Linked DNA regions of Homo sapiens: region 2 is linked to region 1. The links are contacts of gene promoters, found by promoter capture Hi-C in blood cells and fetal thymus (Javierre and others, 2016). All regions are on one chromosome and are shown on one strand. The core of a region is centred on a gene start or on the middle of the fragment in contact, and the rest is flanking DNA. Distances in the headings are between cores, read along the strand shown.

The links. The method cuts DNA at HindIII sites, captures the fragments that hold promoters and counts their contacts. A CHiCAGO score of 5 or more calls a contact.
Region 2: a fragment that was not itself captured here is called in contact with the fragment with the promoter of MCM6 in region 1 in 2 of 17 cell types (fetal thymus and erythroblasts); the score reaches 6.6 in fetal thymus.

The regions. Positions count from the first base shown.
Region 1 is chr2:135,872,311-135,878,880 of GRCh38, forward strand. It overlaps MCM6 (minichromosome maintenance complex component 6), which reads right to left and starts at 4,133. Exons shown (of 17, transcript NM_005915.6): 1 at 3,949-4,133; 2 at 387-533. The coding sequence starts at 4,055. RefSeq lists enhancers at 3,223-3,758, 3,528-3,657, 4,348-4,407 and a silencer at 3,728-3,887. The HindIII fragment of the contact is 12,304 bases long and covers 1-6,570 here.
Region 2 is chr2:134,946,321-134,952,622 of GRCh38, forward strand. It overlaps CCNT2 (cyclin T2), which reads left to right. Exons shown (of 9, transcript NM_058241.3): 7 at 1,416-1,579. Among named protein-coding and RNA genes, the nearest start is that of CCNT2, 31 kb to the left of the region's middle. The HindIII fragment of the contact is 338 bases long and covers 4,588-4,925 here.

The DNA.
Region 1 (6,570 bases), core at 2,883-5,382:
GATGGTGGGCGCCTGTAATCCCAGCTATTCGGGAGGCTGACGCAGAAGAATCGCTTGAACCCGGGAGGCAGAGGTTGCAGTGAGCCAAGATCGCGCCACTGCATTTCGGCCTAGGTGTGACAGAGCAAGACTCCGTCTCAAAAAACAAACAAACAAACAAACAAACAAAACACAACAACAAAAAAACGTTCGGCTCTACAAAGGCCTACATGAAGTTCAGAGCAGTACTAAAACGACCACTGGCAGTATCAAAGCGCCTCTTCTCAGTGGGAAATAACTGTGAAAGCTGACCTTCTGCTACACAAGTGAACACTTACAGTCCAAGAAGAGCTGGCTTCCCGGATTTCAACCCCTATTCAAAGTAAAGAAGATTAATATGCCCATACCTATAGAACTCCTCTTGAATGGTGGTGGAAAGTTGCTGGTTAAATTGTTCCAGGTCCACAAAACTCACAACCAATGTGTTTCTCTCAGGACGAATCAGTTCCTCTGCTAATTGCAAGTATTTAATTTCTCCATCGCTGCTCTGAAACCTGCAGGTACATTCGAGTCAACTAGATTAAGGACACAGGCAGTACAAAGAACCTGAATGATAATTCAGAACATTGGTTAAAGTCCAACAACTAGGCTCAGACAGGCCCATGTTTGGCAGTTCTGTAACTTGGGGCAAGTTACTCCTCCCTTCTGATATGGTTTGGCTGTGTCCCCACCCAAATCTCGACTTGAATTTCCACATGTTGTGGGAGGCACCTGGTGGGAGTTAATTGAAGCATGGGGACAAGTCTTTCCCCTGCTGTTCTCTGATAGTAAGTCTCACGAGATCTGATGGTTTTAAAAAGAGGAGTTCCTCTGCACAAGCTCTCTTTGCCTGATGCCATCCACGTAAGACATCAGTGACTTGCTCCTCCTTGCCTTCCACCATGATTGTGAGGTTTAACTGCTAACTAACAAAAAAACCCAACAACTAACTCTTCTTTTACTACTGTCATGTATAATTAAGATTGGAAAATGTTAAATCAAGAAATTCAGTCTCAAACCCAATGATTCCATTTCTGTAGGGAATTTGCAAACTAACAAATTAGTCAGGGATTTAAGAAGCAGAACAGAAATAAGAATACATGGAAATGAGGTGTTTCACAGCCCAAGACTTCGGGAAAATTGAAACAGGCACACTAAATAAAGCTGCTGGTATTTTTGCTTCTAAAGCCCAAGCAGGATATCATACAAATTTATTTCTGTTCTTTCAAACATAATATGCAGATTCGCCTTAAGAAAAAATCAATTTCTCCTCCATATACAGCATGTTCTGACTCCTTAAAATATTTGTTAAACAACTACGTGCAAAGCCCTATAACAGAGGTACCTGAGGCTGAAAATGGCAGTGTTGTTCCTGCCCTAGGGTTAACTAACACTTTGTCTGCGTCTAGGGAGTTAGACATGTAAGCAATGAAGACAGACAAGAAAGATGTTCCTGTTAATGAGAAGAACAAGAAATGTGCTAGGGGAATAGAAACTAATTCTGCCTAAAAAAACAACTACAAGTTATACATATAAAAGGTGGCGTTGGAATTCAGCTTCTGAAAGAGTTAAAAATTTCAAATAAAAACAGGTGGTGAAGTGACTGACTAGATGATTCCAAGAATGTGATTAAGTCAGAGAAGGTAGGGGAGAAGTGTGGATGATGACTGGGGTGTTTTTGTAAGACAAACAGGAAAGAGGAGTGATGAAGAATTTGAACTTTATTCCACAAGCAATGGTGAATTAAAGTTTATTTTGTGACAGGGAGTTGGCATTTCTTTAAACAAAGCACAGAGATTATTTGTCTCATCATTATCATCTAGCTGCAAAGTCAAGGCACTTAGATTATTTGTTGAAATGAAACGTTTATTGAAAAACCTTTGTAATGTGATGTGGTGGGTAGGTGGGGTTGAGGATGGAATTTGAATTCCAGACTAAGTAGCTAGGAGGTAAATGTGTTACACTGCCAGAGATAATGAAAAACAAACAGCACCCTGGGAGCCTAAGGAAGAAAGGATTAGTGCCTCTCAAAAAGGTGTACAAGGTTTCACAAAGGTGTGAGTTTTTAGCTGGGCTTTGAAGGAGGAACTATCAGGCAGACAATAACATTGCCATAGGTAGTGAAATGGAAATTAAATTATGGTTTTAAGTATACCAAAATTTCCTAAGAAGGCAGCATTATTCACAATAGCCAAAAGGTGGAATGAACCTCATTATTCACAATAGACAAAAGGTGGAATGAACCTGTGTCCACTGAATGGATAAGCAAAATGCAGTATATATACAGGTTGAGCAGCCCTCATCTGAAAATTTAAAATATGAAATGGTCCAAAATCTGAAACTTTTTGAGTGCTGACATGATTTTCACTGGAGCATTTCAAATTAGGGATGCAATTGGTTAAGTATAATGTAAACATTCCAAATCTGAAAAAAAAATCCAAGATCCCAAACTCTTCTGGTCCCAAGCGTTTCAGAAAAGGGATACTCAATGTGTACAGACAATGTTATTTAGCCTTAAAAAGTAAGGAAATTCTGACACATGCTACCTCGCAGAGGAACCTTGTAGACATTATGTTACACAAGCCAGACACAAAAGGACAAATACTACACGCTTCCACTTATATGAGGTACCTAGAGTGGTCAAACTCATAATGAAAGGAAGCAGAGTGGTGGGTGACGGTGGCTGAGGGAGAGGGTAACGGAGGAGAGTTCGTGTTTAATGGGCACAGAATGTCAGTTTGGAAGATGAAAAGAGTTTGGAGCCGGACACGGTGGCTCACGCCTGTAATCACTTTGGGAAGCCCAGGCGGGGGGATCACCTGAGGTCGGGAGTTCAAGACCAGCCTGACCAACATGGAGAAACCCCATCTCTACTAAAATACCAAATTAGCCGGGCGTGGTGGCGCATGCCTGTAATTCCAGCTAGTAGGGAGGCTGAGGCAGGAGAATAGCTTGAACCCGGGAGACGGAGGTTGCGGTGAGCTGAGATGGTGACACTGCACTCCGGCCTGGGCAACAAGGGCTAAATTACGCCTCAAAAAAAAAAAAGTTTGGAGATGGGAGAGTGGTGACGGCTGCACAACGAGGTGAATGCACTTAGTGCCACTGGACTCTACACTTAAAAATGGCTAAAATGGTCAACTTTGTTATGTATATTTTACTAAAAAAGAACTTCAAAAGCCATTCCAAACTGCTGACCCTTCATCCTGGAGGCCGTGGTGTATCTGCTCCAGGAAAAATAACCGGTGGGTGAGGCAAGCCAGGGAGGAGGTTGGGGTTATGAAGCTAGGAGCCCAGAGGCACAGAAAAAAAGAAGAGTAGAGAAAGGAAAGGAAGGCCAGAGGGAAAGGGGAGCAAGGGACCCAGAAGAAGGGATATGGTGAGCTACTCTCTGCAGGGCAGGGCTCCGCCCCCCAGCAGCTTTCAAACCACAGTTGACGCAGAAACTTTCATCAGCACAAGAGGCGAGGGTGGCCCGTGCCCTGCGAACCCCCAGCACCATGCTCCCGGCTGCGTGGCCCAGCAGGGCACCGACGAGATTCAATGGCACTTCGGCCTCCCACTCGACCTGGCCGCACCCAGCGGCCCAGTTACTATACTCAGCGAGCCCAGGTTTCCGCGCCGGTCACCGAGGGCTGTGCAAATACCAGGCTCGCGGGGTGGTGAGCATCAAGTGACAGAAGCAAAGCGCTGAGCACTGGGCACGAGCGTCTTAGGGCTCGAGATGGGTTTTACTCCAGAAAAACCCAGCCTGTCCCAGGCTCCTCGCGGCCGCCGGGCTCGGAGCCTAAAGTTGGGGGGCGGGCGGGGAGGCGCTTCCCGGACGCGCGACCCCCAGGTTCCGGAACACCCGCCGCCCACACGGCACCGCCTGGCCCAGACGCCGCAGGCTCCGGAGGCGGGCGAGGCCCGGGGCGCTCGCCGACTTACTCCTCCAAGAAGTCCAGGAACAGTTTCTGGCACTTCTCGGCCACCTCGTCGCGGACCTCCAGGTGCTGGCTGCCGGCGCCCGGCTCCGCTGCCGCCGCGAGGTCCATATTTGCTTAGTGCCGAGGATTCGCCTGCGCCACGCTCGACCGCCACAAGTCGCTTTTTTCCAGACGCTGCAGCTTTGCGCGCGCCGCCGCCGCTTCCGCCCCGCCCCCTCTTCCGACCTGCACGGCCGGAACCAATCGTGACACAGGAGCTGGAGATTTCGCGCCAAACCTGACCAATGAACGGCGCCTCTCCAAGAGCCCCAGCCCACGGAAAGGGATTTCGCGCCAAATGCAAAGCCCTTCTGGAGAAAGCCCATCTGCCTTTGCGCCTGCGCAGTGTAGCCGTGGCCCGCGGGTATTTTTGGCTGCTGGAACAAGTTCGAATCTGAGGGTTTTGTCCGAGTGGTTTTTCAAATGTTCTTTAAATCATTCCACTGATATTAATTGAACGATCGGAGTAAGACTCTATGGAAGAGAAAAATGAGTAAGCCGCTTCTGCTGTCTAGTTAGAGGAAATAATGGAAACCACAGTATAAAACCCTGTAAAAGAGTCAAAGAGATGTCTAAACCTTGCATGGGTAAGGTGGCACAATTATTGTGGTGGTGCTGACCGAGGAAAATCAGCGAAATATTTGACATTGGCCGGGCGCGGTGGCTCACAACCTGTAATCCTAGCACTTTGGGAGGCCGAGGCGTGTGGATCACCTGAGGTCAGGAGTTCGAGACCACCCTGGCCAACATGCAGAAACCCCATCTCCCCTAAAAATACAAAAATTAGTCGGGCGTGGTGGTGCACGCCTGTAATCCCAGCTACTCGGGTGGCCGAGGCAGGAGAATCGCTTGAACCTGGGAGGAGGAGGTTGCAGTGGGCCGAGATCGTGTCACTGCACTCCAGCCTGGGCAACACAGTGTGACTCCGTCTCAAAAAAAAAAAAAAAAAAAAGAAAGAAAAAGAAAAAGAAAGAAATATTTGACACTTTGATTAATCTTTTTTTCTTTTTCTTTTCTTTTTTTTTTCAGATGAAGTCTCACCCAGTCGCTCAGGCTCGAGAGCAGTGGCGCGATCTCGGGTCACTGCAACCTCCAGCTCCCGGGTCCAGGGGATTCTCCTGCCTCAGCCTCCTGAATAGCTGGGATTGTAGGCGCCCGCTACCATGCCCAGCCAATTTTTGTATTTTTAGTAGAGACAGGGTTTTCGCCATGTTGGCCAGGCTGCTCTCAAACTCCTGACCTCAGGTGATCCGTCTGCCTCGACCTCCCAAAGCGCTGGGATTACGGCCGTGAGCCACAGCGCCCGGCCTTAATACCCTTCTTAAAATGCACTATTGGCTTGAGTTATCCTTATGTTTTTTTCCCCCATCTTTCCCTAACCATTTCACTTGGTTTTTCTGCCATCTCTTTGGCCATTCCTGATTAGCATCCTTTGTAGGCGCCTCTCCTTCAGTGAGTCTTTTAAATGTTCTGGTTCCAGAGCCTTCTTTTCCCGTAAAGTCGCTCTCTTGGGCGACCCTTTACACTCCCTTGGCGTTAATTAACATCTGGGTACTGATGATATCTATATGTGTATTTCACCAACCAGTACCTTTTTTTGGCCTCCAAGACATTAAGAGAAACGGGGACCACTTCCATTTTTTGAGGCTTGTTGCATATTAAAAATATTTTTTCTTTCTTTTCTTTTTTTGAGACGAGGTCTTACTATGTTGTGCAGGCTGACCTTGAACACCTGGTCTCCAGCAATCTGCCTGCATCCGCCTCCCGAGTAGCTGGGATTTCCTGCCACCACCAAATCCAACTTATTGAAAAATTTTTTCTTTTTCTTTTTTTTCTTTCTTTTCTTTCTTTCTTTCTTTCTTTTTTTTTTGGAGACAGAGTCTCGCTCTGTCATTAGGCTGGAGTGCAGTGGCAGGATCTCGGATCACTGCAGCCTCTGCCTCCCAGGTTCAAGCAATTCTTCTGCCTCAGCCTCCTGAGTAGCTGGGACTACAGGCGCACACCGCCACGCCCGGCTGATTTTTTTTGTTTTTGTTTTTTTGTTTTTGTATGTTAGTATAGACGGGGTTTCACCATGTTGCCCAGGCTGGTCTCAAACTCCTGAGCTCAGGCAATTCGCCCACCTCGGCCTCCCAAAGTGCTAGGATTACAGGCGTGAGCTACCGCGCCCGGCCTGAAAAGATTTTAAAATGCCAAACAGAGTGGACAGAAGCTCAAGTAATTATTTTAACATACGTACAAATACACTATTCACAAGATATTTACAGAGTTTAACAAAAAAGCTCAATGCTGGCGTGTTGCAGTGTATCTGTAATCGTATGTATTACCTCATTTGAAAATGAACACTCGGCCGGGCACGGTGGCTCACGCCTGTAATCCCAGCACCTTGGGAGGCCGAGATGAGCGGATCACGAGGTCAGGAGATCAAGACCATCCTGGTTAACACGGCGAAACCCCATCTCTACTAAAAATACAAAAAAATTAGCCAGGCATGGTGGGGGGCGCCTGTAGTCCCAGCTACTCGGAAAGCTGAGGCAGGAGAATGGCCTGAACTTGGGAGGCGGAGCTTGTAGTGAGCCGAGAT
Region 2 (6,302 bases), core at 3,507-6,006, 930 kb before region 1:
GGGGTTAAATGCACAATGTGAAGTGTAGTGGTGCTTTCTGATGACATATTCTCGATTTGTGAGTGCATAAGTCTAAAATTGGTAGCCTGAATAGCAGCTAAAGATTACAAAGAGCTAAACTTAACGTAGAAATTCGAGCAACTTGGTAAGTATAAAGCTATTTCCAGTTTACAATTATAGTTAAATGACAATTTTTAAAATTTCACGTTGATCCAGTCTTAACTTTAAAATACTCATTAAAGTTTTTTTAATAAATAAAATTTATGTAATTTGAAATTTTTTTTCAGATAATACCCACTAGTAGCAAGTTAAAAGTAGTCAAGTCCTATCCATGCCTGGATTTGCATAAACACAATTTTTCCTTTTTTTTTTTTTTTAAACAAAAAAACCTTCCTTTTCAGTTTATATAGAGTAAAAAATGGTATGTGTTTATGGCTGAACAGATAACATTTCCATCATTGAAACTGAACTGGAAGAATAGTCTTAAGGAGCCTTTAATATATAATTCTGTTCTAGATTTATTAATGATTTAAATTTGTCTTTTTGAGTGGATCATTGGGGAGAAGGGACCAAACCAGCTTTGTATGGTCCCTAATTTCTTGTGACACTGATAAGTTTTATTTACAATTTCACATTGGCAAATACTGCTATATTTTCTCAAATATCTGTTGTTGGTATTTAACCTCTATCCCCAGTAATTCTGAACAGCAACATAAAAAGACTTAAATTTGGAACTTTGATTAGAAAAGGCTAGCTGTGACACATATTTCATGCCCCATATTTGGCATATAGTGGAAGGAGAAAGGTAGTATTTTTGCAGTATTTAATAACATTGAGCCTTGAAGCTGTTTGGCAAAAGGTAAGTTTCCTTTGTGGCTTTGCTGAAAAACAAGGCATAGATTTACATAGATACGTGTTTAATTCTCTGCTTCACTAAAGAAAGCAAATGCCTATTAAGCCACTTCAGTTGGGATAATCCCTGATTATTGTGAGATTGAAATTACTTTGTCAATTTTACAAATAGTTTTTATCTTTCCATTTACATATTTACCATGACATTACAAAAGAAAAATACCACAAAAAATTTACAGTGTTATCTATATAGTGATTATTGCAAATATACTATCCTCCTCTCCTTTTATAAAATACTTCAATTTTAGATGTAAAAACAAAATTTTAAATATTAATATATTAGTAATATACTCGGGAGTGAGTGAGGGGAAATGTTCATTTTATGTAGATTTTTTAGTACTAGAATTTTATAACTTAGCTTTTAATTTAATAAAATAAGGTTTTATACTCTAGACTTAAAGATAGAGTTTAAATTTTGCTCTAATCTTACTGGTAAATGTTTTTCTTTGTTTTACATACTTGAATTTTTATGGCTCTCCATTTTCAAACCTGCTCTGCAACAGTCTGCATCTTACAACCTTCTGTCTTCAGTACAAACCAACAGTGATAGCATGTGTATGCATTCATTTGGCTTGCAAATGGTCCAATTGGGAGATCCCTGTATCAACTGATGGAAAGCATTGGTGGGAATATGTGGATCCTACAGTTACTCTAGAATTATTAGATGGTAAGTAGAGAAAATAAATTTTTAAGTTTGGAATTATCTAAGTTGGCAGTTGTCTGAATTGACAATAGAAAGTGTCAGTACACTATCAGATGAACAGAATGAAAACAACAATTCATCAGCCTAAAGAAAAAAAAATAGAGTCTGGAAGCTGTGCTCATACCTGTAATCCCAGCACTGTAGGAGGCTGAGGCAGGAGGATCACTTGAGCCCAGGAGTTCAAGACCAGGCTGGGCAACATAGACCCTGTCTCTACAAAAAAAAAGTTAAAAATTGACTGGGTGTGGTGGTGCGTGCCTATAGTCTCAGCTACTTGGGAGGCTGAGGCGGGATGATCACTTGAGCACGGGAAGTCAGGGCTGCGGTAAGCCTTGAAGGCACTGCTCTACTCCAGCCTGGGTATATATTAACTACCACCAAATATCTAAAGCTTTTTCAGGACTTAAAAAATAAATAAGTAAGGTTTAGAATTCCATAAGCTGACAAGATAAGAATAGTGATTTAAAGTATACTAATTCTGTTGAGTTTTAAATGTGTATACTGAAAGTTGAGTGTTAACTGTGAAGCAGTAAACGAAAGGGATTTTCAGGGGATTGTGTTTCTTGCTCTGTATTACCATTGTTGCCTTACATTGTTAAATATGAATACACAAGGAGAAATTGTGGGTGTGTGTTCTGTTAATTAGGAACGTGGAATTTTGGGGATGTTTTGATGAGAAATTCCTCTGGTTGAGAAGTAAAAGAAGCCGGCCAGAAATGGGAGATTCTTGGGATTAGGGCATTTTAACCACGTACTGTAGATTTCAGCAAGAAAATAGATAACACTTTTTTTTTTTTTTGAGTCAGTCTCACTCTGTCGCCAAGGCTGGAGTGCAGTGGTGCAATCTTGGCTCACCGCAACCTCCACCTCCCGAGTTCAAGCAATTCTCCTGCCTCAGCCTCCCAAGTCGCTGGGACTGCAGGCACGAGCCACCACACCCAACTAGTTTTTGTGTTTTTAGTAGAGATGGGGTTTCACCATGTTGGCCAGGCTGGTCTCAAACTCCTCACCTCAGATGATCTGCCCACCTTGTCCTCCCAAAGTGCTGGGATTACAGGCTTGAGCCACTGTGCCTGGCCTTGTTTTGTGTTGTTTTGTTTTTTGAGACAGATACTCACTCTGCCCCCCAAGCTGGAGCGCAGTGGTGCAACCTGGGCTCACTGCAACCTCTGCCTCCCAGGTTCAAGCGATTCTCCTGCCTCAGCCTCCTGAGGAGCTGGGACCATAGGCGCATGCCACCACGCCCAGCTAAGTTTTGTATTTTTAGTAGAGATGGGGTTTTGCAGTCCACCTGTCTTAGCCTCCCAAAGGGCTGGGATTACAGGTTTGAGCCTCTGTGCCCCACCTGATGTTTCTTTAAGATAGGGGTCTGCAAAGAGTAACACTATTTTAGAGTTTGTGAACTATAAGGTCTCTGTTGCAACTATACAACTATACCATTGCAGCCAGAAAGCAGCCATAGGCAATTTGTAACTGATTGGGTGTGACTGTGTTCCAGTAAAACTTTTGTTGACAAAAATAGGTGGCCAGCCATATTTGGCCAATTATCCATAGTTTGCCTGTTCTTATTTGTGAAATATGCTTCTTTGTTTCATCCTTTTCTATTTTGTTTTCCACCTGGAAAAAATTATCCCAGAATATATATCTCATGCTGTATTATTGCTGCATGATTATAATGTTTTTCTTAAATTGTTAGAGGCTTTTTCAGAGTTTATCCAGAGGAAAGGAAGTCTTCAATGAGTTGAAATGACATCTAAAACTCAGTGAGGGCTTATCTGTTCTATAGCTTGAAAAATCAGGTTATCTAGGTCATTGTTTTAGTTTAATAGTCACTAGATTAAGATTAGGTAGGCAAAATTTTTTTTTCGGGGGGGGGGTGGGGGACAGAGTCTCAGTCGCCCAGGCTATAGAGTGCGGTGGCGCAATCTCGGCTCGCTGCACCCTCCGCCTCCCGGGTTCAAGCAGTTCTCTGCCTCAGCCTCCTGAGTAGCTGGGATTACAGGTGCCTGCCACCACGCCTGGCTAATTTTTGTATTTTTAGTAGAGATAGGGTTTTCACCATGTTGGCCAGGCTGGTCTTGAACTCCTGACCTCATGATCCACCCACCTTGGCCTCAAAGTGTTAGGATTACAGGCGTGAACCACCACACCCAGCCAGTAGGCATAATCGTAATAAAAATAGTTTATATACCTGGTGCTGAAGTAAAAAGATCACAGAAAAGTAATCTGCCTTTTATCCTGTCTTTAGGTCAGAGGTTAGGTTGTGGTTTATGTGGGGTTTTTTGACACAGGAGGAGCTACCTCATTTCCATTCTGAAAAGTAAAGTTTGTTAATTTGGAGAGCAATTGAATAGGAATCTTGGAGAACTGATATGTTAAGACTTTCACCATGTTTTGCAGCAGCTTTTTTTTCTGTGTCAGTCACAAAAAGGCAATTCAAAATTAAAGACATGAAGGTGTGGCCGGGTGCAGTCACTCACATATCTTGAGCACAGGAGTTTGAGCCCAGCCTGAGCAACATGGCAAAACCACGTTTCTACTAAAAATACACACAAACCGGGCATGGTGGCGCACTCCTATAGACCCAACTACTGTGGAGGCTAAGGTGGGAGGATCACCTGAGCCTGAGACGTCAAGGTTGTAGTGAGCTGTGATAATGCTACTGCTCTCCAGCCTGGGCAACAGAGGAAACCCTGTCTGGGGGGAAAAAAAAAGACATGAAGATTTATCTGAATTGTAGAGTGAAGTGATACTACTATTCTTATTACTTACTGAAATAATTCACTTAATGATTGTGTTCCAGAAAAGAACATTGGCTTAGACAGTAGCTTTGAGAGAGAAGGGCCTCTATTTTAGGCACATACTGTGATTTTTGTGCATATAGCTAATTAATTATGTTAATGGATTATTTAACAGATTCTTTTGTTGTTCTGCTATAAAATTTAATACAGTAGGATACTTAAGAAAAACAAAGCTTACATTTTGTGTACGAGATTTTGGACCAGAACTTGAAGTGTATTTAATGTTTTACAACCAAGTTGTTAACAGAAATTGAGTCAAAACAGTTTTGTTAATGTTGGACCCAAAAGTAGAAAAATAGTCTTTTTTTTTTTCTTTTTTTTTCAAATGAGGAAGTAAAGGTCTGGGCATTAGGGTTTTTTTCATCCAAACTGGATGAAAAAGCTCATGAGACTTTAGCAGGGACTAGTCATGACATTGTCAAGGAAATTACATCTTGAAAGATTAATGGTTAAATTATAGCTTGTCTGAAGTGTCGATCTTAACATTGGCTTAGAATAGTTTACAAAAAAGCTTGCTATTACAAAATGAACCTGTAGTCTCTATTAATAGAGGTTCCCCCAGTATTGAGGTGGAATTGGCATTATTAATATTATATAATATTCTGATGTATTTGACTGATGAATATTTGAGAGTGGCTAGTAACTATTAATGACATTATTAGTTCATCAAAACCACACTACTTTGGAAAAGTGGGTCATTTGATTGTAATCAGAATTTTAAGAAAGTTGGTAGAAATTTACAATGAAGATAGTTTGCTAATATATTAATAGTGTTGATAGCTAGGAAGTATATTTGGAGGAATTTTCCCCTTTAAAAAAAAAGTCTGGGTGTGGTGGCTCACACCTGTAATTCCAGCACTTTGGGAGGCCAAGATAGGAGGATCACTTGAGGCCAGGAGTTTGAGACCAGCCTGGTCAACATAGCGAGACCCTGTCTCTGTTATTTAACAAAAAAAAGAAAGAAAGAAATGCAAAATATTGCATAGTTCCCTGTATACCCTTTAGCTTCTCCTGGTACTAACATCTTACATAACAATATATGATTATCAAAACTAGGAAGTTAACATTGGTACAATACTGTTAACTAAACCACAGATGTTATTCAGTATTCCATATTTTTCCCTATTCTAGGATCCCATGTTCCATTTAGTTGACATGTCCCTTCAAGTCTTCTCCAGTCTGTGACAGTTCTCCAATCTTTCCTTGTCTTTCATAACACTGACACTTAGGAGAATAATGGTCATTTTATACAGTGTTCCTTAGTTGGGGTTTGTCTGATGATTTCTCATTATTATGTCGAAGTTATCCATTTTGAGCAAGAATACCATAGAAGTAAATTGGGTCTTGCTTGGTGCATCATATCAAGGGGTACAGTATGTTGATACGTCTTATAACTGGTCATGACAACCGTGATCACTTGGTTACAGTGGTATCCTTAAAGTGGTTTCTGCACTTTAAAGTCACTATTTTTTTTCTCTTTGTAATTAATACATTTCATGGGGAAGATACGTTGGGATTATACAAATAACGTTTTTCCTCAAACTTTTGTCCACTAATTTTAAAGAATCTTTTGATAGATCTTGTCTGTGACAAAAATTATTGTGGTGTTTGCCTAATGAAGATTTTTTTTTTATTGGGGGGGTGATTATTTTTAATGCTACTAGATTTTCTAGAGATTCTAATTAAGCAAGTAAAATCAAGAGGGAAAGTAATCGTTACAAAAGGATTCAGCTTTGAAAATGCCGGTTGAGAGTTGTGTGTACTTCTGTGTATGCTGAGGATTTAATAGGAGGGTAAAAGTGAAGTAGATGAACTCCTAGCATTCCTTTTTAATACTGCCCACTTAAGAGAAATTTAAATCCTAAAGGCACCTTCTAAGTTTCAAA